Regions from separate parts of the Homo sapiens genome. Here all the other regions are linked to region 1. Evidence: promoter capture Hi-C in 16 types of primary human blood cells and fetal thymus (Javierre and others, 2016). All regions are on one chromosome and are shown on one strand. The core of a region is centred on a gene start or on the middle of the fragment in contact, and the rest is flanking DNA. Distances in the headings are between cores, read along the strand shown. Region 1 holds the start of PTPRK (protein tyrosine phosphatase receptor type K). Region 2 overlaps PTPRK (protein tyrosine phosphatase receptor type K). Region 3 overlaps PTPRK (protein tyrosine phosphatase receptor type K).

What was found. Contacts are between HindIII fragments. The CHiCAGO score rates a contact against its expected background, and 5 or more counts as called.
Region 2: a fragment that was not itself captured here is called in contact with the fragment with the promoter of PTPRK in region 1 in 1 of 17 cell types (fetal thymus); the score reaches 5.9 in fetal thymus.
Region 3: a fragment that was not itself captured here is called in contact with the fragment with the promoter of PTPRK in region 1 in 1 of 17 cell types (fetal thymus); the score reaches 5.1 in fetal thymus.

What each region holds. Positions count from the first base shown.
Region 1 is chr6:128,518,390-128,522,619 of GRCh38, forward strand. It overlaps PTPRK (protein tyrosine phosphatase receptor type K), which reads right to left and starts at 2,210. Exons shown (of 30, transcript NM_002844.4): 1 at 1,870-2,210. The coding sequence starts at 1,969. RefSeq lists enhancers at 1,384-1,977, 1,978-2,572. The HindIII fragment of the contact is 3,706 bases long and covers 1,669-4,230 here.
Region 2 is chr6:128,258,217-128,262,544 of GRCh38, forward strand. All of the region lies in intron 3 of PTPRK (protein tyrosine phosphatase receptor type K), which reads right to left. Among named protein-coding and RNA genes, the nearest start is that of PTPRK-AS1, 230 kb to the left of the region's middle. The HindIII fragment of the contact is 1,339 bases long and covers 1,166-2,504 here.
Region 3 is chr6:128,048,596-128,052,619 of GRCh38, forward strand. All of the region lies in intron 13 of PTPRK (protein tyrosine phosphatase receptor type K), which reads right to left. The region is part of intron 1 of PTPRK-AS1 (PTPRK antisense RNA 1); the gene reads left to right. Among named protein-coding and RNA genes, the nearest start is that of PTPRK-AS1, 23 kb to the left of the region's middle. The HindIII fragment of the contact is 5,375 bases long and covers 1-4,024 here.

The DNA of each region.
Region 1 (4,230 bases), core at 960-3,459:
TTTGTTAATTAAAGGGTAAATAACATTTAAAAAGAGAAAAAGTTTTCTAACTGCTGAAAATATATCCATCGCTGTTGAGACATTAATAGTTGCAACTCTTGAATACATGTAAGTTTAATTATGCAACTGGTAGAGTTCAAACTTTCAATTAACAAACTACAAGCCTTTTCAAGCGTAGGCTCTCCGTGCAGTGACAAACACTGTGCAGAAATCAATACTCACTCCAACTTGCCTGCATATAATGAGTTACATCAAGCACGGTTTCAATGCTAACGGGCATTATATGTCAGAAATGCATGCAGTAATGCTTACTCCAGAAAGAATTCAATTAAACCATTGGATTATTTTTTGCATAGAGCTGTTACCCTCTGCGTACATCAATTATATACAGGGCTTTTCCTCTGCGTGCTGCCATTTCATAATCTCTGCCTGAATGTACGACACATGCTGCCACCTGAATCTGTTGTTTAACTCCCTTTACAGAGTTCTAAATGGGGCGGGGGTAGGAGAGCAATGGAAGGGAAATAAACGATTACTCCAGAAAACAACAATTTGAGTTTATTTCCAGGAAACAGGGCCTCCACAACAACGTGAGAAACTGTCAGGTACAAAGTAAGTTATTTGCGTCCTGCGGCTTCAGCCAGGAGCGTGGCTGTCGCTTTTCCCGTCTTCTCCATCACCCTCTGGCCACCACTGCGTCTCCATCTGCACCGCGAACCCCAGCAGCAGATGCGCTCGCCAGCCAAGCGAAGCTGGGTAGGTTGGCCAGAAAAGTTGTCAGGACTGGCGGGAGGTAGACAAGTGCTCGGGAGCCCGCTCCCCAGCGTCCACCTGGTGAAACTTCAGAGCCCCCAGAGGAGAGAACGAAAGAAGCAACCAACCTACACGAAGGATAACAAAACTGGAGGGGAACAGAGGGCGGGACCGGGAGAGCCAGGGTTCACGGACTTCTCTGAGCGGCTTGACCGAGAACCCCCAGGGCTACAGCGAGACGCTCCACTTGTCTCCTTTTGGGTTCTCCGGCAGAAGGCAGACATTTACAGTCCGCTTCCAGCCCCAGGCCGGATCCGGGGAGCGCGGGGCCAGAGCCCCAGGCCGGATCCGGGGAGCGCGGGGCCAGCCTGGCGGTGGTTTTGCCCGAGGAGCGGGCTCCCACGCGCGAGTCAGGCTTCCTCCACCAGGCGCCCAGACCTCGATGCCCATGAACGCTCAGAGTGGGTCCTTAGAACCGCATTTCAACACATCTTACAGGGCTCCGCCAACACACACACAGAACATGCTCCAAGCAGTGCCCGAGCGCACAGGGCAAGCCCGGGAGCAACCCAGAGCTGGGGGAGGAGAAAAGGGGACTCCGGGAGGGACGGGGAAGTAGTTAGACAATAGTCAGGGGAGGTTATTCCCGGGACAAAAAGCACCTGGCAAAGCGCGCCGAGGTCAGTCCCTTCGAATCTCCACATTTCTGACAATGGCTTCCCAGGGAATTTGTTTAAACACCCAAGTGGCAGACAGCAACAAACCCGCACCACAAGCAACAGAGTGCCGTCACGGGAGTCGTAACTACTTTTTCTTTCTCTCTTCCCCACTAGCCCGGCGCAGGCCACGCGAGACGCCGAAGCCAGCAGGTCCCCACACTCTCCGGCTAGACCGTGCCAGCCTGAGCCCCGAGCAAGCTTCGGAGAGGAACAATGGGTGCCCCGCGTCCCACCTGGCACGAACTCTGGGGACAGCCCTCCCTCTACCCTGTGTTCCCCACCCCCGGACAGAGAGAGCTCCCCACGATCCTTGTCCCCAGCCCTAGCGGGGACCTGGCTCACCCCTCGTGAGCCCAGGACTCCAGGCGTTCGTCGGGGACGCCCCCCGGCCACTCACCTGCGGAGAACTGGCCTTGGGCCGATCCCAGGAGAGGCCAAGGAGAGAGGAGCAAGAGCGCCACAAAAGCAGGCAGCGCCGCCGCCGCAGTCGTATCCATGCCGAGTTTGGGAGAAGTTTCAAGCAGCTTTGCAAAGAGCTGCCGGGGGGATCGCCGCGAAATCCACGACGGAGGAGCGGGCCGGGCCTCGCGGGGTGAGGACGGTGAGAGGACAGCCGCCCGCCCGCCCTTTTTCCTTCTTCGCGGTCGCCAAACTACCTCAGGGGCGAAAGCGTCGCCAGCGTCGCCGGCCGGCCGCGGCGGCAGCTCTCCATGCTCGGCGGAGGCTGCTCCTGTTAGTCAAGAGTTACTTTGCTCGGGGAGGGACGGGGGCGGAGCCGGGGGTGACGTCGCCCCGCGGGCTCCGGGCGCTTCTGAGGAATGCGGGCTCGGGCGCGGCGCCGCCACCGCCTCCTGCCGGAGAGACGCGCGCCAGCCCCGGCCGCGCGCCCCGCGCCGCCTTTGTTCGCAGCCTGGGCCCCGCCGCCAGCCGCTGCTCGGAGGGAGCGAGCGAGAAAGGGGAGCCGGCGCAGCTCGCTGCCCTGTTCCAGAACTCAGAATTTGAGAGGCGAGAGTTCGGTAAGCCGTGCGACCAGACGACCGAGGACGCGCGCAGAGAAACCCCCGCCGTCCGAGGAGAGGCGTCCTGGGGTTCCGTCCCAAGGTGGAGGTCCCCCCGAGCGGTTGCTGATTGAAAGGGGAGTGTGGAAGCGCCCTGAGGAAACACCCGCCTGCCTTGAAAACTCCCCGTTCCTTATTCTTGTAATAAGGAATAAGACACCCCACCCCCATCGAAAACTTGTCCCTTATTCATAGAATAAATAAAACTTGAACCAGAATAAACGATCAGTAACTTTCCAGCGTGAACAGCTGGCGTGTCTCCTTTCTGGTTTATTTGTCATTGGCCAAGTATTTGGATTTACTCTGCTTCACTGACTTTGCTTGTTGCTCTGAAACCCTCCGGCCCCTTTCCAGTTCTCACCTAAGAACTGCATCAGGGCTTATTATCCCTTCCTTGCACCTAGGTCTGGTGTGTGTGTGGTTTTGTTTTTTTTAATATCTAGTAGGTAGTTAAGACATAAGTATTTAACAAAAGGACTTTTACACTGACCATGAAAACAGCTTCTTCGGAATGATTCATCTGGCAGAAAATAATGCTATATTATGACAGTAAAATATTTCACAGTTAACTACTTCAGCAGCTTGAAGTGGTTTCGCCATATGCCACCCTGCCTTACTTCTGTGGTAAGACTGTATGGTGCATACTTTATTCATTTTTGTAAAATGTCACAAAAAATAGGTATGGTCACAATTGAATAACATAATAACTTTGATTCAGAATTTTTATGTGTTATGTACAATTGCTAAAACAATAGTCTGTTGATTGACATCTCTCAGTTTCTCAGACATCTTAGCCTTTGTAAATCAAGACAATGTGAAATTCATTTTAATATAACATTCACATAATTTACCAAGCCACATATTCTTTTAATCAAATATATGCTATTAATGACCAGACTTATGACAGAGCCTGTGGAAACAAAAATGTAATAAATATACACACAAATATATACATATATAAATACATATTATACACACATACATATCAGGCAGAAAAGACTTTTAAAAATTCTATGAGAATAGTAGCCTGCTCATTAGCACACTGACTAGCTCAACCCTTGTCAATTCAGTTCAGCATAGTTAAGTTCATCCTTCCTTAGGGTGCAATGTAGATTTTTTTTTTTTAACTCATTAACCTATACCTTTCAACACACCATCACCATTCCATTTCTTTAATTAGAGAACATTCCTAGATCCCAGGTAACAAAAAACTGAGGGACATATTTTTCTTTTTGAGGACAGCAGAACTTCCTAAAATTTAGCAGCAATTTTTCCCAGTAAAAACAAACAAAACCCTACTGTCTGTATACTAATTCATCTGTTCTACTCTTGTAAGAAATGTAAAAGAAGTTCATGACGTGGTAATTTGTTTGTTTAAACACACAAACAAAAAACTTCTTTAAATATTTTCACACAGTGCCAGGACAAAGTGCACACAATTCTTACCTTGCCCATTTTGGGGGACAGCTGATAGAAGATTCATTTCATGAAACTTTATTAATTTCTCTATCATGGAAGTAATAATAATAGCAGGTAATGTTTAGAAAGTTCTTCAAATGTTCTAGGCACTGTCTTAGAGTATACAATGTCACACTGAGACATCAAGATTTTCAGTGTTTCATTGAGTTCAGTCAACAATTCCGTGAAGACTTTGGTACAATTATTCCCATTTGACAAATAAGAAAACAAGGTTATAGATT
Region 2 (4,328 bases), core at 585-3,084, 260 kb before region 1:
AAGAAAATAGTGATTATGTGAAATTCCTTAAAATTTCTATAATAAAGACCAAAATATAATGTTAAATCAAGCAAGTGTTACAACATCCATTTGACTATGTTAAAAAGATCAAAATATGTTACATAAAACTGATATCACAGAGTAATCATGCATGGTTTAACTGGCTAATATCTCTCCCTTACCTCTTCCTGAAGTGCTCATGCTAACACTAGAGATAACTGACCAGAAAAATCCAAGGCACTGGGAAAATGAAATAAAGGAAACAAATACTGAATAAAAATGTTAGTTTCGCTATGTACTTTTTTCATTGTATATGTACTTTTTCATTAGATAATTATTTCTCGAGCACCTGATATGTACAAGAGATGAAAAACATAAAACAAAGTTGATGTCTTCATGGAAAACAGGCTAGTATGGAAGAAAGACACTAAACAAGCATATGGAACAGTGACCAAAGTGCTAAGGCAAGGAGGCAAAGGAGTTAACGAACAGAAGGGTAGAGACGGGGTAATTAGGTCAGCCTCTGAGAAGGCAAAATATGAGTAGAGACCAGAATGGGAAGATGGAGGTAATGCCATTCCAGGCGGAGGGAATGACAGGCACAAAGACTTTGAGATACGAATGATCTTGGAGCATTCCACGATCAGAAAGCTGAATGAGGGAGGCAGAGAGCAGAAGACAATTTAACGTGGAGCTAGCCAATAACTGGATTTGGATTTTATTGACTCCATTGAGAAGCCAGTGGAGGATATGGGGTAGAATTCCTAAGTTCCTGATATCTGACATGTGTTTTTAAAAGATCAGTCTGCTGTGAGGAGAAGAGCCTCAGAGAGGTAATAAGGGAAGCTGGGAGAAGTGTGGGGAGGTCCATGTTTGAGGAGGGAGACAGGGAAAGCATGGATTTTTAGCAGTGCTTCCCAAATGCTTTTATATTATGAAAAACAAACAGGAGATGACAACAACTGTGTGGCACCTTGAAGTAAAAAGACAACTGTCATAGTTCCAGGCTCCACCCTATAGGCTAGGTTATCACACTACAAATTTTTCAACACCTGCAATACCACTGTCAGGGAACACCAGTATGCCACAGCTCAAAACCACTAAACTAAGAGTGAGAAATTGTCAGATTGGGACAGGTTGCTTAAAAATAGAATATGAAGAGGAAAGCTTTTCACAATAACCTAATTAAGGAAACCAAAACATTATGTATTATGATTCCACTGAATATCAAGTTTAATATGCACATGCACACACACATATATAATGTACATATATGCACATACATACATGCATATGTATGTGCCACCTGTCAAAATATTAGGAGTCATCTCTAGAAAGCAGAAGGTGAGATTATGGATTACTTTCATTTTCTGTGTATTTCTTCAATGATTTCGTTACTTACAGTAAGTTTGCACTGGTTAAGTAACACGAATAGAGAGAGGCAAAAAATTTCAAGTATGTTTTAGAAGTATAATTCAGTGTGTGTTCAATTTTCATTCTTTTATGTGAAAATCATAAATCCCTAGGAAAGGGCCATAAAAATTCTAAGTATACTACCTTTCTAGCAGTTGAAGATATAACTTAAAACATTCTTTCCTTTTCATTTAAAGAAAGTTAAAAGGAAACTAAAAAAATGTGACTTCCTTCTGTAACATAAGAACCCTTCCACACAACTGCTTTCATTTTCCAGTCCATAACATATGTAAAGCAAACGTACAACATGGACGTAATTTCATAGGAAAGGCCTTAAACTATATAGACCCAATTAACAGTAGTCATCTTGGGGGAGAAATTGAATGAAATGGGTGAAATGAGTTTCACTTTTCATTTTACTGATGTCTGTATTTGAATATTTATAAGTATTTATCAAAATATAATTGCATAATTTAGAAAATCTTTTTTTAGACCTATAGAGTATATTATTCTCTGGATTACACTTCTGATGACATGGCTTCCTAAAATATATTTTTTTTTATTCTATTTTTTAAAAGATTGGATTTCATTCTAAATGTAACAGAACAGGCTTATAGCAGAGGAGTGACATAATCTGAATTATGATCTGAAGAAGTTTGTTTTGATGACTGTGAGAAGTGGTTTGTGGGAGACCAAGATCCAGAAGCAGAGACAATGTTAAGGAGACCACTGCAGTTGTTGAAGGAAAAGATGACGGCATTAACCCTGAGGATGCCCAAAAATAAAATAGAGAAGATGGCCTTTATCATTGCTACCCACAATATCTAGCATAGCAAATGGCATGTAGTAAGCCTCCTATAAAGAGGTATTCGGGTAAGAAAGTTAGGAAGAGAGGCCAGCCATCCAGAAGGCTGGGATGGAGATTACCGCTTTTCTAATTGGAGCTGGAGAAGCGAAACATGTTTCTTGAAGATGCTTGTATAATGTCCATTTATGAAAGCAGTTTCCTAATCTCCTAATAAATAAAAGACTCATATAACCACTACCACAACAAATTTGGAAGCAGGGACAACAAAAATTATTTCAAAACAAGCTTAGTTCTCCGTTCAACTCCAGTATTTAAGCATGTGGTCCCTGAACTTTCATGTACATTCACTGAACTTTCATGTACATTAGAAGATGCTGCAAAAATATAGGAAGTTGTAGTAAGTTACTTTAAAGACACCTAAAAAATACTGCTTTAGCAAGCTTAACATTTAATGATATAGTTGTCCTCTAAGATCTGAAAATAAAAATTTAAATTGCAAAACAAACATGCATTTTCTTAGTTTTTCCATCTCTTTTTATGTATAGGCTGAGGTCTCTACTTAGTATTTCATCCTGAGCTTATATAGCAATAGTTTCTGTTTTACCCCTCTTGATCTGTCAATCTATCAAGCCTCTAAACTTCATTTTCTATTTTACCCATCCAAATTTAAATTCCATGTTGTCTTTATTTATTTTATATTCCAAGCTCAGTGCTCCAAATAAAACTTTCAAAAAAGAAAAACCCATCAATTTTTGTTCAAACATATTAGATGATTCATTGTTGTATTTCTTTTGGTTCATATGATTAAAGATGTAAAAGCAGAAATCAATACTTATACAGATTTTTCAATAGTTATATGGATTTAAAATTTGAGAATAATGTTCTAGAGGGCAAAAGATGTTAAAAACACTATAACAAAAAACAGCAAATTTTCCAAACTAGCACTTAAGATATTTTATTACATAATATGGTGAAACACTACATTGTACATTGACAGGTATATTTTATTATAATTTCTTTATGAAATCCATTGTCTCCAAACTTGAATTAGCAAAATGTTTGTAACACAGTAAAAACTAGCCAGATGTCTATAGTTATTACAGGGGAAGTACTGTGTGCAGAGCTTCAGTCTAGAGCAAAACTGTCCAGCAAAATTGTCTGCCACAAGAAAAATGTTCTGTATCTGTCTACATAGTAGCCACTAACCAGCCACCTGCAGGCATCAAGCACTTAAAATGTGGATAGTGCAAATGAATAAATACATTTTTAATTTTAATTTTAATAATTGCATCTGGCTAGTGACTAGCTCATTGAACAGCAGAACTTTTAAATATGAATTTTGACAAATTTGGGCAATAGCTTTTGGAGCTATATTAACAGTTAAAAGCAAAAAGAAGCAACTGGTGGGTCAAGCAAACTTTCATATAAGACACAAATTCCACAAGAATCAAGAATATAGGCTCTACTCTTAAGCACAGCATCAAGTTGGGCCCTTACATGGTGGGCTAATTATTTCATGGCACCAACAAGCAAGAATGACATGATTATGCCTAGAATCCAATACCAGGAGTTACTCAGCCTGAGAAAACTCTCCACATGTGCAAATGACAAAACTGATCAAGTGTGCTTTATGTGGATCAGGCAATGCTGTATGGCTTGGTATTACAGTCAAATATTACTTTCCAGGTTTGGATTCATCCCAATTTTATGGATGACAAATTAAGCAGCATAGTGAAAGTTAAACTGCAACTCAAAACTGTTGATACACCAATTTTATGTAGTTTCCAACCTGTTTTCTCCCTAGGTTTAAAATGTGAGACAGCCTCAATATTAAATTATTGAAACCAAATAAGTTCATAGAAGCAAAAATATATTATGCACTATACTCTCTTAAAAAAGGATTTTTTATCTCAAGAGAATCACACTGACAGACTTAATATGTAATCATTGATCTTCAATATCTGTTATCTTATCCTAAATTTTTGGCCTTTTTGTTTTCTAGAAATGAGTTATTTTAAAGAGTGTTCGACTCCCCACATACTAAAACAACACTAACTTCCCAAAGAAAAGAACAGAGTGTTTACTTAATCTTTCATATAGGTAAGCC
Region 3 (4,024 bases), core at 1,163-3,662, 470 kb before region 1:
TTTCTTCAAAGGATTTATCACCATTTGCCATGCCACATACAGTCAGCCCTCTGCATTCATGGGTTCTGCATCCGAAGAGTCAAACAACCACAGACTTACACTGTATTTGGTATTATAAGTAATCTAGAGATTAAGTATACAGAAGGATGTACATAGGTTACAGGCAAACACTATGCCTTTTCATATCAGGGACTTGAGCATAACTGATTTTGGTATCCTCGGGGTCCCGGGACCAGTCCTCCTTGGATACTAAGGAATGACTGTACTTATTTGTTTGTGTTTGGTCTATTTCCTTCAACTAGAATTTAAGTTCCATAAAAGCAAAGGCTTTACTCTATTCACTTTTCTATCCCCAGGGCCTACAACACTGTCTGGTATACTATGGACATAAAATAAATATTTGCTATAGAAATATTGATATCCAAATGAAATCAGAAATCAAAAAATGGCTCATGAATAGACAAGAAACATTATTAAATTAAAAAAAACCTCTTTCACCATAAATACTATGTTCAAATAAATTTACCTATATTAGAAATTTTTCCATTCTATCAGATTTCATAGCTTTTATCTATGGAAATGTCAGGTTTTTTAAGAAATAGATTTGACTAACATACAAACTTCTGCCAAAACTAAATGCTAAGTAACAAGGTTTGTTCTAAAAAATCCAGAAGTTCACAGGATGGGAAAATTAGATACAACCAAAGTAGTTTCAAAATATAAACTACTTACATAAACAGATTACAATACTTGCAATTTCCCATACCATTGGTTTTGTTTCTTAGTTTTAGTCTAAGGATTATTCAGCATCTTGATTTCTTATCAATGCCCGCTTGCTTTACTTTAAGAATAATTTTATGTAAACAAGTACATGGTTCCACAAATAACTATTTACATATTGAGAAAATTTTAAATGACATAATATGCTAAATATTATTAAATAATATAAAATAAAAATTCAATTGAAATGCCTCTTTTGTTAGTTTAATATGGATAAAGCATATTTCTAGTGAAATACTTTTAAAGATTCTTTAAGTAAATTTTAATATAATTTATATATTTGCATGATTCAGCACATTTAAATCTAACCATAAAAATGTTACTTGTTACGATAGTTTCCTTAAGAAACAAATAATCGCAGTATAAATTCTTGATGGCATCATGGCACAAAATTCTTAGCTGCTAATTTACAAATACTTGTGTGCGTGCATGAGGGTATAATGAATTAGGGCACTTTATAAATTACATATACAAAGATAGGCCAGGTGCGGTGGCTCACGCCTGTAATCCCAGCACTTTGGGAGGCCAAAGCGGGTGGAGCACCTGAGGTCGGGAGTTCAAGACCAGCCTGACCAACCCGGAGAAACGCCATCTCTACTAAAAATACAAAATTAGCAGGGCATGGTGGCGCATGCCTGTAATCCCAGCTACTTCAGAGGCCGAGGCAGGAGAATTGCTTGAACCCAGGAGGTGGAGGTTGTGGTGAGCGGAGATCACGCCATTGAACTCCAGCCTGGGCAACAACAGTGAAATTCCGCCTCAAGAAAAAAAAAAATAGATAGAGCAAATCAATATCAAACAATCTCAAACAGTATTTTTTCAGTAGAGAGAACTGAACCTAAAGACAGTGAGCATGCAAGTTGCACAATGATCCTGTCTCATTGTACAAGTGACTCTCTAGTGTTGCTCCATGTTCTTAATGTATCACAGACACCTTCCTTGAGACGTATTCTCCTTTTTGCTTTCAAATATACAGCTAACCAAATTCCGTTTCATATTTTAGAACAATTCTGGTTTTGAATAGGCTATTTTATAAATGGAAAGCCTTTCTTGATTTCTAGTACAATTGAGATAAACTCTTCCACTCCATTCTTGAAGCATATCTTCTCAGTGACTTTATTTGTCTCAACTGCAATGAACATAACTCCCAGGATATCTCTTCTCTTGCATCATAATATGTAACCACATGACTATTTATTTTAAACATTATGATGCTGATTATTTAATTCATATGTTTAATAGTCAAGCCAAGGTCTTTATTCTCTTTATGTGCTGGCTGCCACCAGAGATACAAGGCAGGAAACAAACTATTACACTAAGCATTTTTAATTTTTAGTTTAAGTTTTTATAGAAATAGGTCTTGTTATATTGCCCAGGCTGATCTTGAACTCCTGGGCTCAAGCAATCCTCCTTCCTCTGCCTCCCAAAGTGTTGGGATTACAGGCACGAGTCATGGCATACAGCCGATACTAGGAATTTTTTAGAATGATTTTTACACGCTGAAAAATTTTCAAAATGATGTTATTTCAGTATGTATGCTAATTGTTCTTAGATTTAAATTCTTTCACATTGTTCTTCAAGAATTTTCAAACTTTTAAAAATTTCCTGGTCTCTTGTTCCACATCTGATACTTGTACTCTCTGCACAGGACTTCATTTAATTTGTTTAAATGGATAATCTAATACACTTCTCAATTTTTTCTGTTGGTGTCACTTGTCCATTTGCCCTCACAGGTTCAATTATTCCCTATTGTTTTAAAAGATATGTTTCTGCATTTGTTCAATTATATCACTGCCTACTTCCTCTAGAAATGTATTCTTTCTTATATATATTCAATATTTTTTGCTCCATTGGTAGGTTTCCTCTGATAAATAAAATATGCTCCAGTCTCTACCATGCTTAATAATTCTTTCCTAAATTAAAGTCCTAGCAATCTCCTTTTTATCAGTAATGTATTTCTGGAAAAGAAAGTCTCCCCAACCACTTTATTTTCTCAGCTCCAGTTCATGCTAAAGTCTTGCTTCTATTCGCTATCTTTTTGCCCAGTCACTCTAATTGAATGCTCCCTTTTCTAAACTCAACCATAGACATCCCAGTTTGCAAACCCAGTTGCCTCTTCTCATCCTATTTTATTTGAGCTTTCCATGCTGCTTAAAATATTAACTATCGTTTATAAGCCCCTTCTTGGTATATCTTCCTTTCGTCAGTGTTGTGACAAGGCACTCCACTGGTTATGCATCTTTCGATCCGGTTGCTTCTATTCTAGCTTCTCTCCTACCTCACTTTCTTCCTCCTACTGTCTCAAGATGGGTATCCTGCAAGGAGCTCTCCTCATCTTTCTATATTATCTTGTTCATATGTTTTTACCACTCCCAAGTTCTAAGTTCTCTAGTTCCAGACATTCTCCACACTTTTATTTCTAGTTTTTCCAATTACATTTATGTTAGCTATTTTTTGGTACCCTACACTTGGCTTTTCCAAAATGGCATAAATCATTTTTTTTTTAATCTCAGCCTTTGTTTCTAGTGTTTTCTGTCTCTGTGACTGACATCACATCTTCCTAGTGTGGTTGGCTCAGGACAGAAGTTCAGCATCATATTTAAGTCTTCAGCTTCCTTGTTCACAGCAGATACACACCAAGACATGTTAACTTGTACTCCACCATCATATCCTCCATATCCTTATTTCTTATTCTTTAATGTAATCACTCATCTGCTCCCCATATTTTAGTATAACAGCTTTAAAATTCACTTATATGTTGGAAAAACACACAAAGTTACAGAAAATTTGCAAATACACTACTCCCTTGTTTTCACTTTACTAAGCATGAAGAGTAAGTGACTGCCCTGATGCCTCCATTATCCAGAATACTTTAGTATTTCCCATAAACAAGGACATTTTCCTATAGATCACAAAATGACGTTCAAACTTAAGAAAATTAACTACTGTCTAAACTTCAGATCCCATTCAAAATTCCCAATTGTCCTAATGATGTTCTTTGTATCTAAATGATCTAATTAGTTATATTTAGTTGCTATATCTCTTTGGTCCCCTTCAGCCTGCGCAGTCCAGCCTTCCCTTCACTTTCAAGGCCTTACGTTTTTGAAAATTATAGCTCAGTTATGTTGTAGAATATCCTCAATTTGGATTTGTCTGATATTTTAAATGTTTAGATTAAGGATATACATCTTTGGTTGGAATATCACAAAAGTGATGCTGTGCTTTTCTTGCATCCTAGTGGGAA